Linked DNA regions of Homo sapiens: region 2 is linked to region 1. The links are contacts of gene promoters, found by promoter capture Hi-C in human tissues and cell types (Jung and others, 2019). All regions are on one chromosome and are shown on one strand. Each heading gives the region's core, a stretch centred on a gene start or on the middle of the fragment in contact. The rest is flanking DNA. Distances are from core to core; before and after follow the strand shown. Region 1 holds the start of NUP37 (nucleoporin 37). Region 2 overlaps IGF1 (insulin like growth factor 1).

What was found. Contacts are between HindIII fragments. The study calls those that stand out against the background at their distance.
Region 2: a fragment that was not itself captured here is called in contact with the fragment with the promoter of NUP37 in region 1 in 1 of the 25 tissues and cell types used here (aorta).

Annotation. Positions count from the first base shown.
Region 1 is chr12:102,117,403-102,122,004 of GRCh38, forward strand. NUP37 (nucleoporin 37) reads right to left here and starts at 2,712. Exons shown (of 10, transcript NM_024057.4): 1 at 2,648-2,712; 2 at 961-1,181. The coding sequence starts at 1,116. PARPBP (PARP1 binding protein) reads left to right here and starts at 2,781. Exons shown (of 11, transcript NM_017915.5): 1 at 2,781-2,884. RefSeq lists enhancers at 2,513-2,582, 3,627-4,184. The HindIII fragment of the contact is 7,473 bases long and covers 1-4,602 here.
Region 2 is chr12:102,460,113-102,464,341 of GRCh38, forward strand. The region is part of intron 2 of IGF1 (insulin like growth factor 1); the gene reads right to left. It overlaps LINC02456 (long intergenic non-protein coding RNA 2456), which reads left to right. Exons shown (of 13, transcript XR_007063427.1): 11 at 1-4,229. Among named protein-coding and RNA genes, the nearest start is that of IGF1, 18 kb to the right of the region's middle. The HindIII fragment of the contact is 4,961 bases long and covers 1-4,229 here.

The sequences.
Region 1 (4,602 bases), core at 1,462-3,961:
TTGACCTCCAGCCTGGGCGACCAAGCAAAACTCTGTCTGAAAAAAAAAAATAAAAATAATAATAATACTCTGATAGACAAAGGATTAACCAGATAGTCCTGAGGGTTGAACCTTCATTGTTCCAAGTCTCTCTTACATGTAAAACTAGCTTTCCTCTGGGAAAACATGGTTTATGTTCACCACAAAGCAATCTTACTTTGGTGATTAAACCTGAGAGTGTTACCACTGCTCGTATCAATGACAACTAAAACATACATATGGATTACAATGTTGTCAGATGCCCTCTTGGAATTTTTATTTAGTATATTTACATATACTAAAATTCAAGCATTAGTTTCCTCATGTTTACAGGAGATGCTAAATATCTTATTCAAGGTCTCATAGCTAGTAAGAAGTAAGTAAAGCAGGAGTAAACATGTAGGCATTCCAGTTCTAGAATTCATGCTCTTAATGGCTATGCTTAACTGCCTGCTCAATTAATATGACTCCATATTCTGCATACATTAGATGCACAAAAAGTATGACAGCATACTAATAGGAAAGCTGAATATTATAAAAGCTATAAAATCTCCTGGAAGATTGTTTTTTGGGCTCTCAACATTAGCTGGTTTTGTATGTCAAAGCAGGATGTAGAAAAACCGTAATTAATTGGATCTCATTTATATTGTTTTTTTCCTGTACATACCAATGTTCAGTTAATCATAGCCTTCACTTATCAGAATATTCCATTAATGATCATGAGGCAAAAGTGAAGCCTCATACCATTCTTTTTCACTATCTATATAATGTTTACATAAATCTCAGGCACATATAACTGGGAACATCTTTCTCTATGGATCTTATCTTTTTTTTTTTTAACATTCAAACTCAATATACTTTCAAAGTTTAGATTTGGTTTGTGTAAGTTCTCTTAGTAGTGAAATATGTTCACTGTCATTCGGTGCAGTTTTGTAGACTAACCTGAAACGTACACGTGCCAATGACCACATAATTATTGCCACCATATGCAATTAGGTTTCCTGAATCCCCATTCTCAAAGGGATTAAATTCTACCACATGCACATAATCTTCACAATCCACAGTGTAGGCAGCATTTCTTGAGGCATCTTGCTTCATCTTGTATGTCAAAATTCAAGCAGTTGTGAAAATTAAATAGCCTTCTACTGGACAAGGTCACGAAACTGTGGATTAGAGCACAGGTACAATTACAATGGTCAATATGTTAGTCATTCAGCAAATGCATCAAAATAAGGTTGTGGTGTTACAATGAGACAGAAAGCTCAAAAGAAACATTTAAAGTACTTATCAAGGGACAGAAACTGCAGGAAAAATATTAAATCTAGTTATTAATGGTTCCACATTTGCTCCACAGCTCTTTCCCATATCTGTGATTCTAGCAGACAATAACACTGCAAAGTTCTGTTTAGATTATCTAAAACAAATAGTATTTCATCTGAAGATGGAATCATTTTAACAGCAAATGTTAATAAAAATTAATAACTTTTATGAACCACTATTTGTAGGTACCATATTAAGCATTTTACTGACATGATCACATCTGGTATCTGTACAAATCTAAAGGCAGGTACTACCTCTGGTCTCCATTTTGTAGATGGAGAAACTGAGGCTTCAGTAGGTTAACTAACTTGCCAAGCTCATAAGCAGGGCCAGGATTTGGAAGACTTCATTGTGTGTGGAGAACCAGCGCTAATGAAGAAAAAAACAGCCTCCTGGCTTGAAGGAGACCACAGTTTAGGGATAGTTATGACTCAACGTGAAAAGGGCTATAATATAAACAGATAGAAAATACAGGATCTGTTGTTAAGGAGTACCAAAATGTGTGATATAAAAATAATGTTCAGGGGGTTGGGCGGAGGGAGAGCATCAGGATAAATAGCTAATGCATGTGGAGCTTAATACCTAGGTGATGGGTGTGCAAACCACCATAGCACACGTTTTACCTTTGTAATAAACCTGCACGTCCCGCACACGTATCCCGGAACTTAAAAATTAAAATAATAATATTCTTAAAACTAGGCAGAAGACCTTAACCTGTCAGGGACTAGTGTGCATTCTGGAAGTAGCATTCCCACATGAGAATTATGGGTTTTAGAGTTTTTGGTTTTTTAAAAAATTCGACACAAGGGTTGTCCTGAAAACAGCTGGACTCAGTAACAAACATATCAAGCACCTTAAGAGTATGTACTGAGAATGAGTCCCACCTCGAGACGCTTATAAACTAGTAACTTTAGGAATGGACATCAGGGACTGGAGACTTTTGAAGGGTGACCAGCAAGTGTTATGGACACGGAGACAGAGAGGTATAGAAGTGCAAGAGATTCGAGGTCACGAAATTGTTCCGTCCCTACACCTACTGCTCATTAAAGCAGTGGCCGGGGCCTCACCGTACACGTTGGACAGGACTTGCCCCTGTAAAACTACAACGGCAGAGAAGAAGGGAGGGAACAAGATAAGTCTCTGCAATGAGCGCCGACACCTCTCCCCGGGCCAGGCGAGTTCCTCAAGACCCCGCTCCCACCTCCCGGGGCCCGAAGTGGGAAGGAAGAACTCCTGGGAATAGAGTGGCAAGGCTGGGCGGCCGGCAGAAAAGCATCCCGGCCTCTCGGGCTCCCAGCTCGATACGCACCGCAGAGCGCCAGGAACCGACCAGAGGCAGGCTGGTCTTCCTTGGGGGCTGCCGCGACGCGCTGTGGCTCTGCTTCCGGGTCGGAGGGCGAGCGCAGCGATTGGCTCCCGGGGCCTCCCGCGAGGTTTGAACTGTATTCAGCGGCGACAGCGGCGACTGCGGCGGCCGCGGGAGGGCATCCCGTTGGGGATCCTTCCGCACACTGAAGAGTACGTCTTCGGGTCTACCCCTAATCACGTAAGTCTCGCGTCTGCCCTACCTGCCCTGTCGCATTTTTAAGTGGTGATTCAGGCTGTGGCTTTTGAGGGTGTTTTGCACTGTAATACCTCGGTCGTAGCAAAGTGCCGTGGGACCGAAGTATTATGGTGCAGTGACTTGACGCTCGAGCCTGGTTGGGCCTGGGGGCTGTAGGCGGAGTTCACAGTATCTAGCGATGGAGCTGGTAGGTCCTGAGGGTTCGTCTGCAGCTTGGAAGACAGGCCCGTAGAGGCCTGCTTAACTTCCATTAGTTAGGCAGGAAACCTGGGTTCTAGTCCCACTATGTACACGGACTCCAATTCCTCAACTTTCTCCTACTCCTGATTAGTTACAGCCTCCCAAGGAACCTTTGGGACTTGCACTCGAACACTGATAATGATGTTGAGTGCAATTTTTAAATTGAGCACCTACTAAATGCCTGGCACTAGGTGGGTTATGTACTTGTTTCACTAACGTCTCATTCTGTGAGGTAGGAATTCCCTTCCTGGTTTTGCAGGTGAAGAAACTTATGCTCATTAGAGATTTTAAATACCGAAGGACTACAGGTCATAAAGGGGGAGCCTGGAAGTGATATCTGACTCGGAAGTGTAGTTCTTTCAACCATTTCACACTGCCTGCCCAGTGACAATTTTCTGTCTCACAGTTTTTGCTCTAGAGCAACTTGGAATCCAATTTTTTAAAAACAAGTGTTATCGCTGCTGCCTTTGGCTACTGTTTTTTTGTATAGTGCAGCCTGCCATTCAGAGTGCTTGCATATTTATTGTCTCATTGACTTCTCACAAGGGACTGGAAGGCAAGTATTTCTGTGTGATGATGCCTCCACCTAGGAACCACGTGTAAGGCTTATGGCATAGGCTCCCACAGCCAGCTAGCTACAGGAAGAGCTGGGACTAGACCAGGGGTTGGCAAACTGGCTGTGCTGCCTGTTTTTGTGCAGCCAGCTCCTGAGCTAAGAAGGAGTGTTACGTGTTTATATGGTTGGGGGAAAAAATGAAAAGAATAATGTTTTGTGATGTGTAAAAATTACATGAAATTCAAATTTCAGTGTCCATAAAAAAAGTTTTATTGGAGCACAGCTATACTCATTTGTTTGTTTATGTATGTCCATGGCTATTTTCACACTAGAAGGTCAAAGTGAGTAGTTGTGCATGCCTCAAATATTTACTGTTTGTTCCTTTAGAAAAAATTAGCTGATCCCTGAATGAGACTCTTGGTTTTCTGTCACCATAGTAATGCTCTTTTTTTTTTTTTTTTTTTTTTTTTTAAGACAGAGTCTCACTCTGTCACCTAGGCTGGAGTGCAGTAGTGCTATCTTGGCTCACTGCAACTTCCGCCTCCCTGGTTCAAGCGATTCTCCTGTCTCAGCCTCCCAAGTAGCTGGGGTTAGAGGCACACACCACCACACCCAGCTAATTTTTAGTAGACAGGGTTTCACCATGTTGGCCAGGTTGGTCTCGAACTCCTAACCTTAGGTGAGCCTCGGCTTCCCAAAGTGCTGGGATTACAAGTGTGAACCACCATGCCCAGGCAATGCTCTTTTACTTTTAACTCAAAACAACTTAGAAACTCATAATGCATGATAATAGCTAATGTGCTTTTATACATGCCAGGCACTGTTCTAAAAGCTTTACTTGTGTTTATGTCGTTGACTTGTCATAAAACCCTATGGGATAGGGTTTTCATTTTCATTATGAGGA
Region 2 (4,229 bases), core at 920-3,419, 340 kb after region 1:
ACCATTTTTTTCATAAGAGAAGTTGTTAATCTTTTGTTTTTGCTTATAATCTCTTGATTTTTATATTTCCAAAATTAAAACAAATACATATTGGGTGGACCAAACAAAACATGTCTGTGGACTAGATGCAGGTGGGGTGGGAGTGGAAACGTTTTGTGACATTGCTCTAGAATATCAATTCCATGTGCATAGAGCTGTGCTTTACTCATTTCTTTCATCATTAGTTTTGGCTAACCAGAAGACACTCAATAGATGGTGTGGACTGGGATACCATAGGGGAGAACTATTCCCATCTGACTCAAGCCTGCAGTTGTATGATTGGAATTTCATGGGTCCCCCCACAAAGAAACCTCTTTGAAGGGATGGCATCATTCTCCCTTGGGTATTGCTAAACACAGAGCAGGTGCCCAGCTGATGATTCTACAATTAAATTGGGCAGAGCTATAATTTTACTTCCATACATTTTACTAAAGCACCCAGCAAAAGGAATGAGAGAATACTAACAAAGAAACAAACAATAATCTCCATATCCGTCAGATTTCTTAAGGGATTTTAGAGATTTTCATGAACAGCAGTAAACATTCTGGAAAAGGTATTAGAGATTATCTTGTCAACATTAATTCAATGGGTAGAGTGCCAATGAGTCAGGGATATCACTGTATTAAAATAATATGCATTAAATCTAAACAAATCAAATATATAGTTTTGGTCTAAGTCCAATACTATCTTATCCTTGTCAAGAATATAGACAAGAAGTGGCATGTTCTTAAAGTTCAAGTAAAAGATGTGTGAAAACAATGTGAAAACTATATTAGTGACTTTTTTTCCCTGCCAAACTGGGAAGAGAGATCACAATTATCACATTTCAAAGGTGGAATGTCTTGGTTCATTTACGTATCATTGTTTCAATGGCAACAGGTTTTGAGACCCAGGGGATTAATAATCAAATCTACCAAGTTATTTAGTGGTAGAGTTCTGAGTAAATCCAAGATTTTCTAAGTCTCCAATCCAAAGGCCCCCCTTTCTTTTTATTGTCATTTCAAGAAATACAAGTTAAAAACTGGTCCTCTCTCACTTTACCTGCCCTGCTGTGGGACAATGTCCCTTTGAAGAAGCACACCCTTCAGATATCAAGGCCTTCATTAATGACCTTCATTAATGGGCTCAGGCTGGGGAACTTGAGTTTCAGAATGACCCTCGTAAAGACCCGAAGCCAGCTGTATCTCTTTGAAAAGCAGTTTTAAAGTTTACCCTTCACCTTCTGATAGGTGACCAAAATAGACTTTTCTTACCTTAAAACCATTTCTCTAAAATCCCAGTGGGAACCCTCATAGAACTAATTAACTCAGACCCATAAGAAATAATATTAGAATCTGGCTGAGCATAACAAAAGATGAAATTTGATATGAGTAAAACACACATTCGTCCACTTAATGCAATTAGATTTTTTTCTTTTTTTGAAGCACTCTTGCTTGGCTGTTCTTGAAAAATGTAACTATTGAAAAAGAAACTGGCAAGATCTTAAGGACTGGGGCTCAGTTCCTGGCCCCAGTGATGGGCTTGGAAATTGCAGCTACAGCAATTAGAAGTTCCAATTTCCAGTTCACAGAAGGTCAGGCCATGGGGTTATCCTTGGAGCAGTTCTATCATTCCTCTGAGGAAAGGTTCCACCAACTTGAGGGAATCTGGACCAAATACCAGTGAATCAGCATATATATTGTTAATGGCCACAAGCAGGTTTGACCTTAACATCATTTTTGAAATCTGCAGTGACAGTTGATCTTTTTGTACTCTGTCTTATCAAATGTGAGCCACGAATTAGCAAGTACCTCTTACTTCCTGCCATTCTCTAGATGGGGCTTCTCAAACCTTAACACGCATCCAAATCCTGTGGGTATCGGGTTAAAATGCAGATTTTGATTTAATTGGTTTGGGGTCAGGGCCCCTGACTCTGCATTTCTAAAAAGCCCTCAGGTTTCTTTGAGTAGCAAGACTCTATGTCTATGTGTATTTTCACACACTAAGCTTTGTTTTTCCTAAGCAACATTGATACATTCCCCTTAGACAATTTGTTAATCAAACCAATTAGCCCGTTGTAAACAAGAGATACAAGAGATTGTTTCTTGCCACAAAACACTTTCCCTAGCCAGTTTTCAAATCTGGTTTTTCTAAGAGATAGACTTTTCTGTTCTTTATTATTACTGTTGTTTTTGATATGTGTGTTGGGGAGGGAGATCAAAATCATTTATATTCATTGAAACCAATCATCCACTGAATGACTTTAAAACACTAAGTGGCCAGTGTCTACTTCAGAACCAGCCAGAAGTAAGCCTTTCTTTGTCTTTAGCTTACACATCATGATGCTTTTGTGCAATGTTACTGAACCCCCATCTGACTTATCTGGTAAGAGAGATTTTCATAATTGCATGCAAAGCACCGATAATCTACAGAAATGCCAGCCAGATTTGTGGCACTAATACCTTTCACAAGTCTTATGATTCATATGACTCAGGGCCCACAGACTGTCTAACTTAAGGGAAGCCTGAAATGATGCTTATTGTATGTGTGTCATTGATCTTCTCAAAATTCATCCTCAAATATCTGTTCCATACTAGGAGGTAAGAATCAGCAGAAAAGAAGGAATCTTTGGAGAGCCAAAACCATCTCTACACCAAATTGAGAGACTGGAATTATAAGGTGAATGCAATTAACTGGCAGTCGCATCCATGTTGAGAACACAGTCATCCCTTTAATAGAGAACATTTGCTGTGCTTGACAAACTCACAGTGAAATGGTTGGATCCATAGGAAGCAACATGCTGAAAATGGTTTCAATATGATCCTGTTTTTTCACTCAATAGCCATTGATTGAGGGTGTCCAGCCAAAAACAATGAGAAAATGAGCCAACAATAGTCTTACCCTTTGACCATATTAGATAAAGTCGCAGCTGAAATTTGTTATATGTTTCAGGAATAACAAAGCATCCATATGGAACATATATTTGGCAGTGTGGCAGCTGATGAAACCAGGAAAATTAGACAAATTATCAATTGCTCGCTCCCAAATTACCCCAAAAAGAAATTAGATCCATTTTCAGTAGCTTTGCCTTCAAATTTCTTCATTCCGTGAGTCACCACTACCTTCTGCCAAACTAAATATGTCTATGAACGGCTGGAAACTTTAATGGAAAGAAACATAAAACTCAAACTACGTAGGAAAATTTAAGCTTCTTCATGGAAGATCTTCGTGGAAGACTAGCAAGTTAGGAATGTGTGAAGACAGACAACACATCGATAATTCCTTTTGTTTGGGGTCACTTCTGAGTTAGAGAGCAATGCAACATGCTGGCTTGACTTCAAATTAAAATCAGCTTTTTCCTTTATTTCTTTTGTAAGCCTCCAATCCCTCAAACTACTAGGGTTTATTAAGGTACACAGTCCTACAGTCAGGTCGATCAGATTTGGGATAAAGAGACTTCATGATGTTATCCGATGGATGGTAGAAATTAGTAAATGAAGATTTCATGAATGGCTAAGAGCTTAATTTTCTAGAAACTATTCTGAGGTGTTACACCAGAAGAATATGACATAGCAGTTCACTTTGAGTGTATGGACTGTGGTTATGAGCACTACCCTCATATGAGTTTATTGAGGTTAAGTTTAAAGGGTCCAGCTGTGCAAAGAGCTCTGGACCAAGCATGAGGTGACTGAAATGTAGCCTTGGCTTTCCGACCAGTAGCTCCAGCTTTTCCGACCAACTTTTGTGACCTCATGCACATCATGTTTTTTCTGGACCTTGGTCCTTTCATCTGGGAAGTGAGAGCACTGGATCAGATTGCTCTATATGGTTCTTTCTAGCTCTCTAATTTTTCAATTCTGCATTGGCAAATAGAAACCACTTGTAGTGTTCTCTAAGGGCTGGTGCTCCAGCTGTGATTCATACCTTAGCCAGGGATGTACCAGTTGTTGCATACCTTCCCTTGCCCAACACTACTCCTTTTAAATAACTCACATAGAAGTAGAGAGGAACTGAGTGGAGGTTCTGTTCTCACTTTCATAAGTAGACCTTATTGGTGAGGGTCCAGTAGCCTTTGAAAATTACCTGTTGACTAGAGTTAGCTTAATCTTGAGCTAGGCATTTTCAGTGGAGCAGTGGTGAAGGGGTCCTAAGAGGTGACATCTCAAGTAGACTTGTTGACTTTTTTCTCCTATATCTTCAATCTCAGATCC